Linked DNA regions of Homo sapiens: all the other regions are linked to region 2. The links are contacts of gene promoters, found by promoter capture Hi-C in human tissues and cell types (Jung and others, 2019). All regions are on one chromosome and are shown on one strand. Each heading gives the region's core, a stretch centred on a gene start or on the middle of the fragment in contact. The rest is flanking DNA. Distances are from core to core; before and after follow the strand shown. Region 1 holds the start of ENHO (energy homeostasis associated). Region 2 holds the start of DCAF12 (DDB1 and CUL4 associated factor 12). Region 3 overlaps DNAI1 (dynein axonemal intermediate chain 1).

Region 1 (2,700 bases), core at 158-2,657, 400 kb before region 2:
CATCTGGATTTACAGGGGTCTTATGTGAATTTCATGGCATTGGATTGGGGGAAGGGGCCTCTTAGTCACATGGTCCTGGGGGTTGTGTCAGCTGGCATTTGCTGAGATGTGATCGATCTGCTATAAATTAGTGAATAACAACCCTGAGAGGTAGCATTACAACCATTTTACAGATGAGGAAGCTGAGGCTAAGAGAGATTTAGTAACTTGCTCAAGATCACAAAGTTAGTAAGTGAACCAGGAATCAATACTGCCCCGATTACAGTAGGCACTTAGTTATATGAGTCTAGGATTCCAGAGAGAAGTTAAGGCTAGACTTGGGAGCACTGGGAGTCTTCATGATATAGCTTCAGGGATGTGATCCTCCAAGGAGAGCATGTAGAGCGGGATGAGAAGACGGCCGGATCAGAATAGGTGACAATCACTGGCCTGTGAAGGTCGGGGAGGACAAGGTCTACCTCACTGCTCCTGTCCAAGCTATCTTCTTCTTAGGGGAGCTTTTAGGATGGCAAGGCAGGATTTCCACCACGCCTGCACCTATTCCAGCCAGGGCAGAACCATCGCTCAGGACACTCCATTTCTGTCCCAGACTCCCCAACAGCCTGGCAGCAAGCCTGCGACCAACACTGGGTAGGAACTCAGTAAATGTGTCCAAAGAACCTGTGTTGCCAGAGATTTTCACACCTCTTAGGGCCAGGGAACCTGGGGCCCTCTAAAGTGGGAATGCAGAGTCCACACCCAGGTGGCAGAGGGAAGTGCGGGACTGCACTATAGGCGGTTCCCTAGGTGAGGAGATTCAGTCTCCTGCCAGGTGTGGGGACGCGGGGCCTTCCTCCGGATGACTTACTTAAGAGACCTCTCCCAGATACAGAGGGGTGGTTTCCTCACATGTGGAAATGCAGAGGCCTTGGCCTTTCTCGGATGTGGGGTGTACAACCCTTCCAGGTGTAGAAGGTGCAAGAAATCCCTACCAGAGGTTAGGCCTTGCCCCCACCCCATCCCCTCTCCCGGGAAGGATCCAGGGCCAGCTACTCCTTCGGCCCTCCTCCCGCCCCGCGCCGGCACGAGAGGCGGGCTGGTCCCCACCTCAGCGCACCACCAATGGTGCGGGAACCGGGGTTCGGCCAGCCAATTGAGTGGCGGCAGCGGCGCTGGGATGGCTCCGCCCCCGGGCCGCAGGCCGCCGGCCTCCCAGGAGGCGAGGCTCTTCGCTGTTTTTGCTGGCCGCCGAGCCCGGCCGAGCCCAGCCGAACGTAGCCGAGCCCAGCCGAGCCCAACCGAACGCAGCCGAGCCCAGCCGAACACCGCGCAGCTCCCGCCGCCGCCGCCCGAGCGCTGCCGAGCGAGCGAGCGCCGCGGCCGCGGAGGAGGTGCGGCCCCAAGGGGAGGAGGTGCCCGCTCACCGCAGACCGCCCGCGGCAGAGGCCGCCCCGGTCGCGCCGCGGCGGGAGCGGCCGGTGGAGGCTGCGCGGCCGAGGGGGAGGGCCGGGGGAGCGGACGTCGCCTCTGCTGGTCTCCCACCTCCCGCCGCCCCCCGCCCGCAGGCTCCCAAGCCTTAGTCGGCGCCGAGCATCCCGCTGCCCCGGACCCTCCCGCGGGCGCGCACCAGGCTCAACTCAGGTAAGAAGGGCCTCCCGCCACGGGCACGGGGGCCAAGAACACGCGACCCGAAGATGGAGATAAAGAGACAGAGACACACTGCCGCGGAGAGAGACGAACACAAAGACAGAGACACAGGAACCACCGAAAAGACCCCACGGAGAAGGGGATAGGGACACGTCCATGGGAACAGAGGGGGATACAGCCTGGAAGAGAGAGAGAGACACAGAGACTGATGCAGAGATACACAGAGACACACTGGTAGAGAAATGAGACATAGAGGAGACATACTCAGAGATGGGGACACACGGAGAGGCAGCCACACACACAGAGGTGGGTGTGCAGAGGCACAGGCACACATCCAACGGAGGGACAGTGAGACACCAGACACACACACACACCTGACCCAGAGAGGCAGCCCCACATAGAGGCACACAGCCCTGGACGCACAGAGCCTGCACATGCCTGCCAGGGCCTCCACAAAGTTCCCTCTGTGCAAGCTGGCGCCTCTGGAGGTCTCCTGGTCGGGCTGGCTGGAGTCCTGGGAGAGAGGAGGCGCCCAGGCCACACCAGAGCTGCTTACAACCCCCATCCTTTTGGGCTGGGGGCTTCCTGGATCCCACCCACCAACAGAGGGCTTTTGAGGGCTGCAAGCTTGGTGGGCAGGACCAGGGCATGCCCACCAGGTCTAAGGAGAATGAGATGACGGCTGCCTACTGCAGCTTCCCCACGGTGGCTACACACTCATTCAGGTGGCCAGAACCAAGCCTGTGGATGGGGGTGATGGCTCTGTGGGGTATTCGAGCCTGTTGGGACCCAAGGTCTTTCACCAGGGAGGCCAGAAATGTGGGAGGGAGGCTCTCTTCCCTACCTCTCTCCTCCTAGGCCTCACCCCACCCTTCCTCCTCACCACCCTCTCCTTTACTGTATACCCCCAACAGGCTCAGGACTGCAGGTAGACATCTCCACTGCCCAGGAATCACTGAGCGTGCAGACAGCACAGCCTCCTCTGAAGGCCGGCCATACCAGAGTCCTGCCTCGGCATGGGCCTCACCATTGAGGCAGCTCCACTGTCTGTGCTGGTCTGAGGGTGCTGCCTGT
Region 2 (2,700 bases), core at 138-2,637:
CCAGGGGCTCTTGGGTCATCCAGAGCATTGCGGGGCAAGACAGAATTAGAACAGACTCAAAAAAGAAAGCTGACCCACTCCTGACCCACTCACTATGTGCATATCTCTAAAGGGACAGGCCTGACCAAATAAGATGGAGCTGCCTTTCGCAAGACATTAGGGGTTAGTGGTAGTGCCGACTTGGGATGGCAGGAGACCCTGCTTCAATCTGGTCTTTGATTCGGCTTGGAAAACAAATCCAAATCTCCTTGTTGACAGAACTTGAGATGGTCCAACAGAGCTCCTTGGAGGTATGAGGCCTGAGGCCTGAAGCCTGAAGTGACCAGCAGGTAACTGGGCACCACAGCCTGAGGCCAATCAGCCCCAAGCAAGAGCATCCTGCTTCCTCAGAGGGTTTGTTTGCTTGAGGAAAGCGAAGGCTGGCAGTCATATTCCTTCAGGATCTTCCAAAAATGTTGGCAAGGGTGATCCTGATGAAGCCCCCTTGTTTGGAGGCCAATGCCAGCTCTAACTGGACTGGCAAGCCAAAAATGACCACTCTCTTTCCTGTAGTTCAGAATTCCCGACCTGCCCTAATGGAGACGCAACCTGAATCCAAGAGTGAGGCAGGCAGCTACAGATAAGTTTACAGCGTGATGACTACTTCATAAAGCACAAAAGACCATGTGGTTTAGATGGCAGGTCATGGAAATCTAAAGGGAATGGTGAAGTTGCACCGTAAGGGGAAGGTGACTGAGGAGCTGAAACTGACTGAGGGGCTGAAGCATTTCGGACAGGAGAAAGGATCAGGAGGAGACAGAGCGGAGAATGGAGCCTCAGGGCTACCCAGCGGTGGGAAGAGGGTAGCCAGAGACTCGTAGGGCGGCCTGGGTTGGTTGTGCTGGGCAGGTTCTCAGTGGTGGGAAAGTCTGGCCACACTGCCCTGACTTCCTGACTGGACTTCACCTCGAGGGTGGGAGCGGTTCCTGCCCCCCACCCCCCCACCCCCCTGTCCAGCCCTTGGAGCCAGGGCACGGTTTGTGACAGATTCAGGGAAACGTTTGGTGCCAGATGGGAGGTAACCGGGTTAAGGCCTGCACTAGGGAGGATTCCTTCCCCCAGCAGCACTGGTGGTCCTCACTTCCGGGTGCCTGCGGATAGGCGGGCTGGGGTCGGAGGTCGGCGGCCAGAAGCCAGATTCCCTTGGCCCCAGCTCGTCCACTTCCATCCAGCAGTAGCCAAACAACCGTTGAAAATGGCCTGGCGGCGGCCGGGAAACACCAGAGAACTATCTTCCAACCCCTAGATCCCGCCCATCTCGTTCCGGCGGTGTTTCCGTGGCGACGCTATCCGAAGTGCGGCTGCGCAAGGGTGACGGCGCGCGAGCAAGGGGGAGGGGGTGTTTTGGTTCTAGCCGCTCGCCGTCCTTGCAGGCTCTGCCGTCGGAAAGCCGCTCATTCTCGCTTCCCCTTCCCTTTCCCGGCTCAAGTCCTTCCTCTCTCTTTCCTTTCTTTCCGCCTATCTTTTTTCTGCTGCCGCTCCGGGTCCGGGCCATTTTCCGGGCCGGGCGCACTAAGGTGCGCGGCCCCGGGGCCCAGTATATGACCCGCCGTCCTGCTATCCTTCGCTTCCCCCGCCCCATGTGGCTGCGGGGCCGCGGCGGCGCTGCCCACTATGGCCCGGAAAGTAGTTAGCAGGAAGCGGAAAGCGCCCGCCTCGCCGGGAGCTGGGAGCGACGCTCAGGGCCCGCAGGTGAGGGTTGAGAGGCCGGCACCTGGGTGGTGAGGCTGAGGAACCAAGATGGGCTTAGGGTCCGCAGATCCTGCGACGGGAATCGGGGTCCAGGGTCTGCAGTCAGAGGCAAAACAGGAATGGGTTCAGGGCCTATAGGGTCAGGACTGGACCCTCGTTAACTGGAGGGCAGATAGGCCAGGGCGGTGAGGAGCCAAAGGGGAACTCAGGAATGGGACATAATCCGCGGGAGGCCTGCATTCGTGGATAGGGCTTGAAAAGAAACCAGAATCTTGGCTTTGGAGGAAGGGGAAACCGAAGTTAAGGGAATCGGAAACAAACTCTGGTAGAGTGAACTCTACCTTCCATGGGCCCTAGGAAGCTGGGATGATTGCGTCCCTCCTGGAAGAAGGAAGTAGTCTCCCTATATGTATACCCAACCCTGAGCTGGGCCTTTCGGCGTTTGGACCCCAAAAGAAACAACAGTTCCCAGGTATCATCTCTATGCCGCCCCCTTTGGAGGGGAAGGCCTTCTTGGACATAGATATGGCCTCTGATTTCCCGGGGGCCTACTACCCCGTTGGCGGTTGATTTTTCGAATTCTGCAACTGCCTGGAGCGCGGGCATGATGACAGAGGAACGGTCATTGATGATGCATCCCTGGAAGACCTGGGAGCCAGGTCTGGCTCCTTGGACTGTATCTTCCGTGCTCCAGTGGGAGTACAGACTGAGAGGGAGAAGGGGGCTGGGTAGAGATGCAGCCCATGTCGGTATGGGAATCACTCTACCTCTCATTTCCTTCAATCTTTCACTCCTAAAATGTCTAGTAAACCTTTTAGTCTGTTCTATTCTGCATTCATTCCCTTGACTTTCAGCCCTTGTAATTCACATTGGTAAGTTTGACTGTGAGCAACATCTTTTTAATGTTGGAAGAGTTAAACGACTTTCTGGATTGAGATTCTTGTTCTCTTGTGTTTGTATTTGTGTTGT
Region 3 (2,700 bases), core at 129-2,628, 340 kb before region 2:
TAATGTAAATATCAGCCCTGAATGAAAGCATTGGACTAGAAGAAATCTGAGGCCCCTGAGGCCCCTTCCCGCACAATTCATGAGAAAGAGATTTACCAGAAACAATATGGAAGTTACTTTAGAGTAAAGCGAGTTATATCTTCCACTGGAGGAGCTGAGCAAAGAGAATACCTCCTTCTAGCTTTGGTTGCTTAAAGAGCCATAGGATCTTGTCCCTTGCTGACATTGCCTAGCATGAACAGATGAGCTAGGGTCAATCAGATTCCCTCCTTAAGAATTTGAACTAGGACTACAGGGAGAACCAGCAGTTGGATGGAGATATTCATGGAAATGTTTGTGAGGTAGAGAGGTCAGAACAGTTATGATAAGCTGGAAACAGACTAAAATTATGAGGGAGCGGAGACCATGGAAATCTGGCCAGTTGGGAAATAAGAATAAGAATGAAACATAGTTGTTAAGAGAAATAGAGAGGCTGTGAGAGATGTGGAGAAAGTAGTTGGTCCCTATACCTGTTTCAGAATTAATTGTTTTCCAATTTCAATTCTAGGTTATCTATGTACTTATAATAACCATCTGTAACTCCCCACATATATACCTTCTCCCTTCTCTCATCCTCTTTTATCTGAGGTAACTTGAGTGAGCCTCTGTTCTTTGTAACTTAAAGAGCTTAACTAAAGTAATGTGTCTTAGAGTTTGCCAGGTCTGTAAAGGGCAGAAAGAGAAGAGAAGACTTGGGCATTCCATGCAGAGGGAACAAAATAATTAACAAAGACACAGAGGCACAGAAGCAGATGACTCTCCAAGGAGCAGCAGATTATTTTGTCCATATACACTCCAGTTTGTTCCCAAATAAGATTTGAGGCTGAATACATGACACATTGAGAAAATAAGTAAATGAGCAAATGGATGTGATGTAAGAATAAAAGTAGAAAAATAAGCTTAACATTAGGGGTAGGGTCCCTACATAATTAATAGGATTAGGCTGCTTTAACTAGGATAAAGGAGGCATGAATTGCTTCTTCTGCAGGCCAAGAAAGAAAAGTTAGTGTTCAGAGTAGTGCAGTACATACCTTCCCATCACTCATTTATTCACTCATCAACTAACTCATTCAGTCATTATTCATTCATTCAGCATTTATTAAGCATCTACTATGTGCCAGGTCCTCGGATGACGGCTAAAGAGGAACCAAGATTGAGTTGGTTCTCACACCCAGGGTTCTCAATCTAGGAGGTGAGATAAATGGAGGACATAAATCCACCATACAAACCAGAATCCAGTGACTCTATGAGTAGGACAAAGCGTTGTGAGACTCAAACCAGTGAAACTAAAGTTACAACAGCTGTGTCCTTTGCTTGCTTCTTGCATACAACTCTGTCAGTGCTCAGTGACTGCAAAGATTGAACACTTGATACAAATTCCTAACTGGCAGAAAACAATTTCATGTGGCTTGCTCACAGCTGGAGCCAGAGAGTCAACATTACTCCTCAGCATCAACTTGCAGGCTGCAAAGCCCAGCAACGAGCACAGGAGCCCTCTGCCATTATTATTTGAGTACCTGGCATGTACTGAGTGCTAACAATGTGCTAGGCCCCCTAGTACACAGGGGAGGAAAACAAATTCTGGCCTCAAATGCTCACAGCTGTTTTGTAATCTGATAATTGTGCATGACAAACCTCAGACCATAACTCTGAAAATAGCATGACTATAATCATAACAAAATGGAACTGCCATTGGCAAAAATTGTTTTCTAGTTATCACTTCCAGAAGGAATTCCATTAACACAACTAGGGGAAAAGAAGAAAAAACTGTCTCAGCTTTCTGCTGCTAAACCTCAAAATTATCATCAACTGCATCCATCCCTTCTCCTGTCCTGTTACAAAGTGTGCCTCCTCCTGTCCACAACATCATCTCCTCAGAGACTTGGCTCTAGTCATTATTTAATCTTTCTCCTTTATCTTCAACTTCTCTCTCCGTTCAGGATCCTTCCCCTCAGCATTTAATATATTCAAGTCTGTCATCTTAAAAAAACAATCTTTGCCTACATAGTTCTTACTGCCTTCTTAGCTCAATTCAGTTTAGCTTTTCACTCTGAAATTGTCCTTTCCAAGGTCCCCAATAACTTCCAAGTTATTAAATCTAATAGTTATATCTTAGTGTTTATCTTCATTGACACCTTAGCAACATGCAACTTGGCTGACCATACAGTTTCACTGAAACACATTCTTCCTTTGGCTTCTGGGATATTATTTTTCCTTGTTGTCTTCTTACTTCTCTGATTACTCCTTCTTATTCTCCATTTTGGACTCTTCTTCTTCTATCCAAACCTTAAATACTGGTGGTCCCCCCAGAAGTCTTCCCTAATTCCCCCAGAATCAGAATGAAGACCCCCTACCACATGCTTCCATAGAACCCTGTGCTACTTCCCCAACCACAGTTGATCACTCATTCAACATTCATCAAGAGCTTCTGACGTCATCATGGCCACTGTTTTAGGGGCTGAGAATACAGATATAAGCAAAAACATCCACAGGCCCTGCTCCCAAGGAGCTCACAGTCTAATGGGGGAGACATACAATAATCAAATAATTACACAAATAAGTGAATAATTACAAACCGTGATGCATGCTATGGAAGAAAGGAACACAGAGCAATGAGACTATATAACAGAGGAAACTTACCCTACCTTCCATAACGGGGCA

Evidence for each region. Contacts are between HindIII fragments. The study calls those that stand out against the background at their distance.
Region 1: a contact is called between the fragment with the promoter of ENHO here and the fragment with the promoter of DCAF12 in region 2, in 1 of the 25 tissues and cell types used here (IMR-90 fibroblasts).
Region 3: a contact is called between a fragment that was not itself captured here and the fragment with the promoter of DCAF12 in region 2, in 1 of the 25 tissues and cell types used here (dorsolateral prefrontal cortex).

Annotation. Positions count from the first base shown.
Region 1 is chr9:34,521,697-34,524,396 of GRCh38, reverse strand. ENHO (energy homeostasis associated) reads left to right here and starts at 1,407. Exons shown (of 2, transcript NM_198573.3): 1 at 1,407-1,620; 2 at 2,541-2,700. RefSeq lists silencers at 982-1,351, 1,372-1,481 and an enhancer at 2,111-2,663. The HindIII fragment of the contact is 6,325 bases long and covers 1-2,700 here.
Region 2 is chr9:34,125,385-34,128,084 of GRCh38, reverse strand. DCAF12 (DDB1 and CUL4 associated factor 12) reads left to right here and starts at 1,387. Exons shown (of 9, transcript NM_015397.4): 1 at 1,387-1,731. The coding sequence starts at 1,654. RefSeq lists a silencer at 1,653-1,702 and an enhancer at 1,137-1,838. The HindIII fragment of the contact is 26,684 bases long and covers 1-2,700 here.
Region 3 is chr9:34,464,529-34,467,228 of GRCh38, reverse strand. The region is part of intron 1 of DNAI1 (dynein axonemal intermediate chain 1); the gene reads right to left. Among named protein-coding and RNA genes, the nearest start is that of DNAI1, 7.1 kb to the right of the region's middle. The HindIII fragment of the contact is 7,861 bases long and covers 1-2,700 here.